2 separate regions of the Homo sapiens genome follow, and region 1 is linked to region 2. The links are contacts of gene promoters, found by promoter capture Hi-C in blood cells and fetal thymus (Javierre and others, 2016). All regions are on one chromosome and are shown on one strand. Each heading gives the region's core, a stretch centred on a gene start or on the middle of the fragment in contact. The rest is flanking DNA. Distances are from core to core; before and after follow the strand shown. Region 1 holds the start of SEC24C (SEC24 homolog C, COPII component). Region 2 holds the start of NDST2 (N-deacetylase and N-sulfotransferase 2).

What was found. The method cuts DNA at HindIII sites, captures the fragments that hold promoters and counts their contacts. A CHiCAGO score of 5 or more calls a contact.
Region 1: a contact is called between the fragment with the promoter of SEC24C here and a fragment that was not itself captured in region 2, in 6 of 17 cell types (fetal thymus, non-activated CD4 T cells, naive CD4 T cells and 3 more). The highest score is 7.3, in fetal thymus.

Annotation. Positions count from the first base shown.
Region 1 is chr10:73,743,040-73,745,739 of GRCh38, reverse strand. SEC24C (SEC24 homolog C, COPII component) reads right to left here and starts at 1,368. Exons shown (of 23, transcript NM_198597.3): 1 at 1,303-1,368. It overlaps LOC124902453 (a long non-coding RNA gene), which reads left to right and starts at 1,475. Exons shown (of 2, transcript XR_007062195.1): 1 at 1,475-1,523; 2 at 2,529-2,700. RefSeq lists enhancers at 853-1,419, 1,320-1,749, 1,420-1,987, 827-2,026. The HindIII fragment of the contact is 9,340 bases long and covers 940-2,700 here.
Region 2 is chr10:73,809,064-73,811,763 of GRCh38, reverse strand. NDST2 (N-deacetylase and N-sulfotransferase 2) reads left to right here and starts at 166. Exons shown (of 15, transcript NM_003635.4): 1 at 166-290; 2 at 861-965. It overlaps NDST2-ZSWIM8-AS1 (NDST2-ZSWIM8-AS1 readthrough), which reads left to right. Exons shown (of 18, transcript NR_182658.1): 1 at 1-290; 2 at 861-965. RefSeq lists silencers at 1-361, 662-731. The HindIII fragment of the contact is 756 bases long and covers 976-1,731 here.

The sequences.
Region 1 (2,700 bases), core at 119-2,618, 66 kb after region 2:
AGTCTCTACTAAAAATACAAAAACTAGCCGGGCATGGTGGCACACGCCTGTAATCCCAGCTACTTGGGAGGCTGAGGCAGGAGAAATCGCTTGAACCCGGGAGGCGGAGATTGCAATAAGCCGAGATCGTGCCACTGCACTCCAGCCTGAGCAATAGAGCAAGACGCCCTTTCAAAAAAATAAAAAATAAAGGACACCTGAAAACTCTAGCAAGGTAACAGATTAAAACCAAGTGCAGAACAGGCACCAAAACTTCTTCACATAATCTGAGGAAACAGTTCAAGAATCAGGGGCAAAGTTAGAGTTAGATTTCATGGAAAAAAATCATTCACCTCATCCCTCAAGCAGAAGACTATGAATATTCTAAATTCCAATGCACTTCTCCAACTCTCCTGTTTCTGCTCCCCTTACGATTGTTATGAATCTCAGCCACCATCAAAATTATTACAATCTTGCTCATCAACACAGGGATGAATTAGAGGGCCTTTTCTAAACAGGGTCCTTCCAAGAAAACTATCTCATCACATCTACTTTCAACAGCTGTATCATTCCAATTATCCTGTAGACAGAAGGGGCCCAGAAAGCAGGAGCACTCAGAGTTGCTGCAAAGGGAACAATGGACCTCTCCCCCTTTGCTAGAAGGGCCACCTTGACTATAGAAAAGGAGCTGATCCTGGTCTAAAACTCTTTAAACTCAAAGTTATCTCAATAGCTGTTCTTCCAAACCCTAAACCTTACAGAGGTAGGTCACTGACACTAAGTTTAAAATATGTCCTCTCCCTTTATGTTTCCAAAGCCGGGGGGAGGGGTAAAGAAAGGAGCTTCTTCTCCAGAAAATAATCCCCTCAAACACATTCAAGAGCTTGGAGTCAGACTGAAGTCTCGACTCCATTCTGGGTGGATAGTCGAGGGTGACAACCCAAGGGGGCGGGGCAAGCTTCCTAGAACTCTGAAAGTAGTCAAGCCATGGAGCCTCGGAGAGCCGAGGATCAAAACCGAGAAGCCAAGTCGGCTTCTAGGGCCACGTTAAGAGAGGGGGCTGCTCTGTTAAGCACAGAGACCAAACGTCTTGCACCTTTTAACAGGCTCGGGGCAGGAAGCAGGAGCCGGAATCTGGGCCGGGAGACGAAGGGATGGTCTAGGACCTGCTCCTGGATGGTGGATGCGTGAGGTGAGGGTCTCTACCCAGGCCCCGCCCCCAGGCTCCTCCCTTCTTTCTGAAACCGGACCCCAATCTGGCCAGTAATACCCTGACCTCTCCTTTGCTTTCCTACCCGCCAACCTCCCGATGCCACTCCTCACCCGGCTCCAGATCCAGGTTAGACTTCGTTCCTAACGTCAAGGCTCCCAGGCTCCACTTCCGGTTCCGAGGGGGCCGTCCCGTCACCCCCGGAAGTTCCTCCTCCACGCTTTAGGGCCGGGCCACTTCTTCTGCCACGTCTGCATTTCGGGGACCCGGATGCCGCGCATGCGCCTCTTTCATCTTCCCATCATGGCCGCCGCCTGTGCGCCTCTGCTGAGTCGTATGTATTTCCCTCCTGACATTTTTTTTCAGATGTTCCAGTCACTTTATGGCCTCACCAACAGAAATGAGATTAAAAAGAATTTGTCAAACTATCTTTAATAATGCCCCTTCACTCTGCCTGTGACGTATTAGTGACCTCTGAGCTAGAGTCTTGTAGTCACTTCCTGGTGACCCCTGACCCCGTTGATTTCCGTCCGCTAGGTTGCTCTCACCCATGGCGTTTGCTGGTTATGAGATTTGCGGAACGTGTGGTGGTGGTAAAGGGCACCAACTGTTGTCAACCTGCATGTGGGGGTCTGAGGTCTGGCTCTACAGCTTGTAAAATGGAAATAATAATGCCCAGAGGATGAAATTAGGCCACATAGGCCGCTTGGCATCATAGTAAGCACTCAGTAAAGGTCAATTGTTATTAACCATTTTTATACAGCGCCTTTGTTTAGGTGCAGAGCTTTATCAGAGCCAAAAGATCTCTGCGCTCTGTTGGAAAAGATAGTTCCTGCAGTAATTATTAGTACCCCATTTAATGGCTAAGTAATTATAGCTAACAGTGCTAGGATTTCTTTTTCATATATGACTTCATTTGAACTTTTCAGTACTATTTGTTGATTTCATAATTTTTCGAGCACTGCTGTTGAAACTGCCTTTGCAAAATTACAACTGAGGAAATTATGATAGTGGAAGAAATCAGACTTAACCGACTCCATCTTGCTTCTAACCTTTAAGCTGTCCTTATTCATTCCTGGGTGTAGGTGGAACTAACTTTGGGGAGGAATTCAGTTTATGGTTTGAAACAAAATTGATAATAGCCCCTTCCCGAAAAGACCCCCTTCTTGCCTGGGGACCAGTCTGTCTTTACAGGACTAACAAATTAGCTACAAGATTACAAATTACAGTTTAGGGGACATGCAGCCTCTCGCTCCAAGAGTCTGAACCTCCCCAAATTGCTTTTAGGAATAACATAACTATTGTAAAACCTAAGATTAGTGCTTGAGATGTTTTGCAGACCCTGCACTCATTGGATCAGCTGACTACCTAGACCAGTAACCTGGCTCAATCAGTTCTGCCATTCCACCCAGGAACAGAAAACAGCAAGAAAACCTCACTTTGACTCCCTGTGATTCCGTCTTCAACCTGACCAATCAGCACTCCCCGCTTCCCAAGCTCCTACTCGCCAA
Region 2 (2,700 bases), core at 104-2,603:
CGTCTCGGAGGCCGCGGCTCGGCCCGGCACTGCGGAGGGCCGCTTGATTTCCCGGAACCCAGGTCGCGCGGCTGCTAGGGCCGGAGCCGGTGGATCCGAGCGGGTGCCACCAGCGGCGGCGCGCCGCCTCCCCCGGTGGGAGCGGTGGTTGGGCCAGGCTGCGGCAGAGCGTTCGCTCGGAGATGGCGGAGCAGCCGCGACGCGGCCCGTGGCCCCGAAAGCAGGGAAGCCGGGCAGCCCCGGGACGCGGCGGAGCCCGGGGACAGCGGGGACGCCGCCCAGTCCTCCGGGTGAGCCGCCCCTGAGGAGACCCCCCCGCCCACGGTCGCGCTCAGGCCCCCCCAACAGACTCCCTTGGATGTTGCCACCATCACCACCCGCAGGGTCGTCCCGGGCGGCCCAGCGTGCGCCGCGCCCCGGGTCCTTTCCGCCGGCCTCCCTCAGAACCGCCTCGCTCCCCTCCGGACCGGGCGGGCTCCCTTCTTCCCGCAGGGCTCTCCCAGCCCAGAGGCTGTCTCGATGTCACCCCGGAGTCGCCGCCGCGCGCCTGTGGCCCCTTCCCCTTTGGTGTCCCACATCCGGTGCGCTCTTCGCATCCACCTGTGCCCCCGTCTCCTCTCGGCGGGGCCCCTCCACCCGCCAGCCCCGGGCCCCCTCGGCGCCCGCAGCCTCCGCGCCGCTGCTCCGGCCGTCCCGGCCTCCCCAAGCCCGGGCCCGGCCCCGGCCCCCGTCTGGCTTCGCCGTCCTCAGAGATCTCCCGCACACACCCACCCCGCCCAGCCCTGCTGGCCCTCAGTGTTCACTGGCCCGGCCTGCGGCGCTCCCGGCGCCCCTTCCCTAAACCTTGCTGCTTCTTCCAGGTATGAAGCTAAAATGCAGCGGCTAAGAACGCGGCTCTGGAGCTTGACAGGCCTGACGTCGAATCCCAGCCCTCCCACCAACTGAGCTGTGTGATCCTGGGCAAGGTTCTAAGCTTCTCTGAGTTACTCATATGTGAAATGGGGATAATGGAGCATGTACCTTTTCCCTACCTCTTAGGGCTGGTGTGAAGATTAAATATATGTGAAGCTCTTAGAAGAATGGCTGGCAAGTTGTAATTTCTCAAATACGGGATGATACACCCTGAGTATCAACTTCCCGTCAGTGACCTCCTCACTACAATGTTTTCTCTAAAGTTGCATCACATTCTTAGCATTCACCCCTTCCCGTCACCATTTTGATCCTCTCCCCCAGCTGTCTTCTCGTGTCGTTTTACCTAGGCCAAAGCTGAACTGTTTTATTTTTATTTTTATTTTTATTTTTTTTTGAGCTGGAGTCTAGCTCTGTCACCCAGGCTGGAGTACAGTGGCACAATCTCAGCTCACTGCAATTTCCGCCTCCCACGTTCAAGTGATTCTCCTGCCTCAGCCTCCTGAGTAGCTGGGACTACAGGCGCCCACCACCATGCCCATCTAATTTTTGTATTTTTAGTAGAGACGGGGCTTCACCATGTTGGCCAGGCTGGTCTCGAACTCCTGACCTCAAGTGATCACCCGCTTCGGCCTTTCACAGTGCTGGAATTACAGGCGTGAGGCACCACGCCTGTCCTGAACTGTTTTTAAATCATCTCTGTCAATTCTGAAGGACCTCAGCTCTGCCTTATCACCCCTGAGATGTGTGTTTGGGGGTGGGTGGTAGAGAGGGATTGCCAGCCTTACAAGGAGGCTGAGTGGGGATAGTGACAATAAAGCTTACAGAAGCAGTCGATTTAAGAAAAAGAACAGACTCAGGAGGCTGAGGCCGGAGGATTGTCTGTCTGACCCCAGGAGTTCAAGACCAGCCTGGGCAACGTAACAAGACCCCCATCTCTAAAAAAAATTAAAAATTAGTAGGGTGTGGTGGTGCAAAGCTGTAGTCCCAGCTACATGGGAGGCTGAGGTGGGAGGATCACTTGAGCCCAGGAGTTTGAAGCTGCAGTAGGCTATGATCACACTAGCACACTGTATCCTGGGTGACAGAGCAAGACTCCATCTAAAAATAATAAAAGAGATCCCCAAAATTAGACCTCCTTAAAACTGTTTTCTGATCACACTGTCCTTTTTCCTTCTGTCATTGGTTGGATGTGACTTAAGCTCCTGTTGCTCTCTGTCATCCAGTCCTTACTCAAGTTGTTCTGTTTGTGTAACTGGACTCAATACCTCATGTCTCTCCAGACTAGCTCAGGGACTCTTCTGAGCTGTTTAGGAATAGGGTTGTAGAACTACTTAGGCTAAGTTAGGAAGGAGAAGTAGAGTGGACTCAGCTGTATGGCTTTTCTCAGCACCCAGTGTGTGGCCTGCTCAGGGGTTACATTTTTATCTCCTGACTGGCAAAGTTGAGGTGAAGGTCAGGGGCAGGTAATGTTTCACAAGCAACGGGTAAGGGAGTCCCTAATTTCTGGGTTTGGAAACTGGTAGAATGATTACCTATCATGAGGATTGCTCTTTCCTTTTGAACTCCCCCACCATAGTGTCCACCTGACTGCAAGTTCGTTAAAGCTGTTGGCTGTGATATTGGGTTTGATTGATGAGAAGATTAACAGACTCATGAGTTCCTTATCTGATATTTTGTTGGAGCATGGGACTTCTGAAGACTTCCGGGGCTTTCCGTCCCTTCCTCACAGAAAGATCAGAGCTGTTGCTGGCTGCCAGCTGCTCGGTCATGGGCTAGGAACTCCTTTCA